2 separate regions of the Homo sapiens genome follow, and region 2 is linked to region 1. The links are contacts of gene promoters, found by promoter capture Hi-C in human tissues and cell types (Jung and others, 2019). All regions are on one chromosome and are shown on one strand. Each heading gives the region's core, a stretch centred on a gene start or on the middle of the fragment in contact. The rest is flanking DNA. Distances are from core to core; before and after follow the strand shown. Region 1 holds the start of C15orf61 (chromosome 15 open reading frame 61). Region 2 overlaps MAP2K5 (mitogen-activated protein kinase kinase 5).

Evidence for each region. Contacts are between HindIII fragments. The study calls those that stand out against the background at their distance.
Region 2: a contact is called between a fragment that was not itself captured here and the fragment with the promoter of C15orf61 in region 1, in 2 of the 25 tissues and cell types used here (liver and small bowel).

The regions. Positions count from the first base shown.
Region 1 is chr15:67,519,816-67,522,515 of GRCh38, forward strand. It overlaps C15orf61 (chromosome 15 open reading frame 61), which reads left to right and starts at 1,316. Exons shown (of 2, transcript NM_001143936.2): 1 at 1,316-1,779. The coding sequence starts at 1,434. It overlaps IQCH-AS1 (IQCH antisense RNA 1), which reads right to left and starts at 2,029. Exons shown (of 6, transcript NR_040052.1): 1 at 1,704-2,029. RefSeq lists enhancers at 903-982, 1,623-1,742 and a silencer at 1,163-1,512. The HindIII fragment of the contact is 11,118 bases long and covers 1-2,700 here.
Region 2 is chr15:67,581,882-67,584,581 of GRCh38, forward strand. The region is part of intron 4 of MAP2K5 (mitogen-activated protein kinase kinase 5); the gene reads left to right. Among named protein-coding and RNA genes, the nearest start is that of MAP2K5, 41 kb to the left of the region's middle. The HindIII fragment of the contact is 7,822 bases long and covers 1-2,700 here.

The sequences.
Region 1 (2,700 bases), core at 66-2,565:
CTGCACTCCAGCCTAGACAACAGTGAGATCCTTTCTAAAAAAAAGAAAAGAAAAAGAAATTCTATAAAGTTCAAGTTCTATAAGGTAAAGTTCAACTTCAAATTCTGTAAGGTAAAGTTCAAGATTCGGCATATGTTGGTGGGTGCTCAATGTTCAATAAAAACTGGGGAATAGGCCTGGTGCAGTGGCTCACGCCTGTAATCCCAGCACTTTGGGAGGCCGAGGCAGGTGGATCACGAGGTCATGAGTTTGAGACCAGCCTGGCCAACATGGTGAAACCCCGTCTCTATTAAAAATACAAAAATTAGCCAGGCGTGGTGGTGCACGCCTGTAATCCCAGCCACTCGGGAGGCTGAGGCAGGAAAATCACTTGAACCTGGGAGGCAGAGGTTGCAGTGAGCTGAGATTGCACCACTGCACTCCAGCCTGGGCAACAGAGTGAGACTCCGTCTCAAAAAAACAAAACAAAACAAAACAAAAAACTGGGGAATATAAAATTTCGCCATACTATCCTACATCCCCCTTGAGTTTTTAGCAACGATAGTAATTGTTATATGATGCTTAACGCGTAATTACTGTACCTCATTTACATAAGGTGGTTTCAGACACATCATCTTGTTTATGTATGGCCTCTCCAAACAAAATGAGTTTAGGACAAAAGAGGAAATCCTTTTCTAAAAGCAGTTTTGTCCGTAAGTTACTGCCTCAAGAGGCCGCAAAGTTTGAGCAAAGCTTTTCCGAAAGTAATGGATTGGTAATGGGTGACTGAGGTCCACAAAGCTCGATAAGAGGCTCCTGGTCCGTCTACCAGGTTCTTAGAGGGAGGTGCCTTTGTGTGTTCGGACGCTGCACTGAGACACGTGAGGTTTTTAAATAAACTTTTGATTTTGAAATCTCTGGGACTAATTTTAAACAGTGAACCCGACAGCGAGGACCTACACACAAAAGTGCTCCCGGCCTTACCAAACAACGCAGACCCGGGGTCACGCCTCGTCCTGTTTCAACAACAACACCCAAGGGCTTCCCTGGAGCCCAGGGCGTGGGAGGGAGACTTGGGTTTGAGTTCTGCACCTTGCGGAGGTGGTTAGTTATTTAATTGTCTTCCACCTGAATTTTCCTCAGGCCCAAATTGATGAGACCTCCCCGAATCCCTCCCCTGCCCGAGTTACTAATGACGGCGTGAGGTCACACCTGGCCACTCAAAACCAGCTCCTTGACGCAGGTGACCCTCCGCCTCGCGCAGCTCACGCTTCCCATCCCCCGGACTCCACCCCCAGCGGGAGGCCACGGGGCCGCTGTGCGCACGCGCCGCCGCACACCGGGGGCTCTCGGGCACCCGCGCGGCGCCGGTTGGCCTTCCCGGCGCTCGCCCGGGGGCGCGCTTGCGCGCCAGCGGCTGCGGACACCAGCCTGCGTCCCCGGCGCGGCGGGCCATGGAGGCCCTGAGGAGGGCCCACGAGGTCGCGCTCCGCCTGCTGCTGTGTAGGCCGTGGGCCTCGCGCGCCGCCGCCCGCCCCAAGCCCAGCGCCTCGGAGGTGCTGACGCGGCATCTGCTGCAGCGGCGCCTGCCGCACTGGACCTCCTTCTGCGTGCCCTACAGCGCCGTCCGCAACGACCAGTTCGGCCTCTCGCACTTCAACTGGCCGGTGCAGGGCGCCAACTACCACGTCCTGCGCACCGGCTGCTTCCCCTTCATCAAGTACCACTGCTCCAAGGCTCCCTGGCAGGACCTGGCCCGGCAGAACCGCTTCTTCACGGCGCTCAAGGTCGTCAACCTCGGTGAGTGGCGACTGCCGCGCCCACGCGGTGAAGCCCGCCCGGCCGGGACGGCCCCTCAGCCACCGAGCACGTGACGAACGCTCGCAGGCCGGTAGAGTCCCGCGGGAGTCAGCTCTGCCTCCCGGCGCCGGCTTCGCCTGGGGTCCTTTGTACTCCTCGCCCAGGGGGTCCCCAGCTTGCTGAGCTCCTGGCACCCGAAGCCGTTCGCCTGCTGCGGGCGCGTCCTCGGGCCTAGGGAGGGGCGGGTCGCCCTCCTGTCCTGCCCATGTTAACCAGAGTAGACCCCTGGCCTGGGCAGTAAGCCAGGGGGCGTCAGGAAACGCCCCCTAGAAAGTGGCTCTGAAGTTGACATCCGTCCTACTGCATGGCAGGACTCATTCCCGTGAACATCACTTTGCAGCTGCGTTTATGTTGCAATAACTGGAACTACTCTTTTAAGTTTCTTTTGTTTTCTTTGTATGAATTCCCGGCAAGTTCGTTTTACTAAAAGCACCAAAGGTTTTCACCAGACATAACAGCTTCCTGAGGTGCTAGGCCTAAAAGATTTTTAAAGATCTTTAATATTTGTATATTTTCATGGAGACGCCCTGAGGATGTTTACTGTCACTAGGTGTTTATTTTCTTTTGGTTTAATGACAGAAGAGGGAGGTACGAACATGGACATGGGTGTATCTTTTATAGGTCAGGGGAAAACAGAAGGCCTCAAGATGTTTTGAACTTACTAATAGCTGGCATAAAATCAATCTAGATTTCAGTGATTCAAAATCTAGCCATGGAGCTGAATGAACCATGTTACCCAGCCAGGTTTTTAAAGCCAGGATTAAAACTAAACCCTGCGCAGCCGTACTACTAATACTATTACATAATCTGATCGTCCATTAAGGTTAAAAATAGTCTGTGTATTTGTGCTTATAATAACAC
Region 2 (2,700 bases), core at 77-2,576, 62 kb after region 1:
AGTAACTTATTGAAGTGCTAAGTAAGTACAGTTGGGCTATTTAAGGCCAGTGATAGTCCAAAACAAGGATTGTGATTAATCCACTTCTGTTGTACTTGAAGATTAAGCACCAAAACAGAAAAAAAGAAATGTTGCTATTTCTGTTTATTAGTCCAATGATTAGGATGTAGATGATTTCTTTTTTTTTTTTTTTTTTTTCGAGACAGAGTCTCGCTCTGCCACCAGGCTGGAGTGCAGTGGTGCAATCTCAGCTCACCGCAACCTCTGACTCCCTGGTTCAAGTGATTCTCCTGCCTCAGCCTCCTGAGTAGCTGGGATTACAGGCTCGTGTCACCACACCCAGCTAATTTTTGTATTTTTAGCAGAGACAGGGTTTTACCATGTTGGCCAGGATGGTCTTGATCTCCTGACCTCATGATCCACTCCCCTCGGCCTCCCAAAGTGCTGGGATTACAGGCGTGAGCCACCACGCCCAGCCAGGAGGCAGATTATTTCTTAATGTTTGCAGTGACTGGAGAATTTGGGCAAGTTTCAAAATTCTTTCTTCACAAGGAGTAGTATTTTACAAACTGAAAATTTCCATTAATTTCTCTATTGACATTATAGCTCTGCCATAGAAAACCCTAATTGCAGTATCCTGGAGAAATATACTTCCAGGCAGGGCACAGTGGTTCATGCCTGTAATCTCAGCACTTTGGGAAGCTGAGGCAGGTGGATTGCTTGAGCTCAAGAGTTTGAGACCAGCTTGGGCAACATGTCAAAACCCTGTCTCTACCAAAAAAATACAAAAATTAGCCGGGCGTGGTGCACACTCCTGTTGTCCCAGCTACTTGGTGGGCTGAGGTGGGAGGATGGCTTGAGCCCAAGAGGTTGAGGCTACAGTGAGCCATGTTTGTGCCACTGTACTCCAGCCTGAGTGACAGAGCAATACATTGTCTCAAAACACACACACACACACACACACACACACACACTTCCAATGTTGTGGGTCTTCATTTGTCTCTAAAAAATTTTTTTTAGTTATCTTCATCCAAATTCTTTCAAGTTTTGTTTGTTTTCTTTCCTTTTGTGAGCAGTCCTGTCATTCTCACTGTTCATCGCATTATGCTTCTTCCCATGATAATCACAACCATTTTTAGATGTCTGCTCTGTTAAGGCATTAATATTGCTTTACGCATCATCATCTGTAATCCTCCTGATAGTTCTGCCTATTAGGTATTACTGTTTCCAATTTATAGATGAGAATATTGAGATTCAGAGAGGTTAAGTAACTTCAGAGTCACACAGCTTATAAGTGCTTACTATGCCCTTTGAGTAAGAATTTCATTTAAATTATAATATGATTAAAATGGAAAGGCATATATATTAAAATATAATTAGAGTGTGCATGGGAGTAGTTTGGAGGGCTTGTTTTGGAGTGGAGAGGAGTATGTTATGGGGAGAGGATACTTAAAGGAGGAAATTATATGAGATGTCATTGTCATATGTAGTCTTAGCATAAAACCCACTAGGCTGCAATAAATTGTTAAACATAGTCTTTCTAAGCCAAATTTAAATATTTCAGAATATGAGACTGTCTTTTTATTTCTGTGTTTTTTTAATATGCTATGGTGTAATTGTTTCTAGTTTTTGGTAGTCTTTTGCTTTTTGCTACCTGTCTACATCGAATGTACATTTTATCATATGTAGATAAGTGAAATTATGCAAATTTACATAATCGACATGTAGACATACTGGGTATATTTCCTGTGTCTACCTAGTTGGTTAGAGGCCCTCAGATCTTAAATTTTATGGTTAGGCCCCATGTTAAAAAGAATCTTTAGACTGAACAAGTAGGAAGGATAGGAGAAAATGATTGTTTCCTTATTTATTTATTTATTTATTTATTTTGGAGACAGAGTCTCACTCTATCACCCAGGCTGGAGTGCAGTGTGTGCTCACTGCAGCCTTTATGTCCCCAGGCTGGAGCAGTTCTCTCGCCTCAGCTCCTGAGTAGCTGGGGCTACAGGCATGTGCCACCACGCTGGGCATTTTTTTTTAATTTTTTAATAGCGACAAGGTATCACAGTGTTGCCCAGGCTGGTGTCAAACTCCTGAGCTCAAGCAATCCTCCCACCACCACTTCTCCAAGTGCTGGGATGAAAGGCATGAGCCACCATGCCTGGCCATAATTCTGATGTAATAACATGTTCTCCTCATTCCAAGTAGCACAGTTGCCTTGGATAGTAACTCCCAGGTCATGGCTAAGTCCTCTACATTGTTAAAAGATATGTTAAATATTAATAAGTGTGAACATTGACTAGCTTTATAGTAATTCCTGACCCGATAACTTTAGGAAATATGAGGTTACTGGGTTTTTTGACTGCTGTTTACATCTCCAGTTATAAAAGTTTGAGAAGTCAATTGAGGAGTGAGGCAGATGTTAAGGTTAGAGATAAGAGTTGATGTTTGTCTCTGATTCCTTGGCTAGCCACTTTGTTTAAATGAAATTTATGAATGCACTGCTTACTTCAGTGGAAATATTTTGAAGTGTTGTCTTAGGAAGTATTGATGGTCCCTCAAGGACCAGACGTCAAATGCATGTGACTGTAGTTCAAAAGGTTAATTTCCATTTTAAGGAAAGAAGATTTTGAGTCTTAATTTTAATGCATTTTAGAAAGGCAAGTAAAAACATTTTGTTATGGTTTAGATATATTTTCT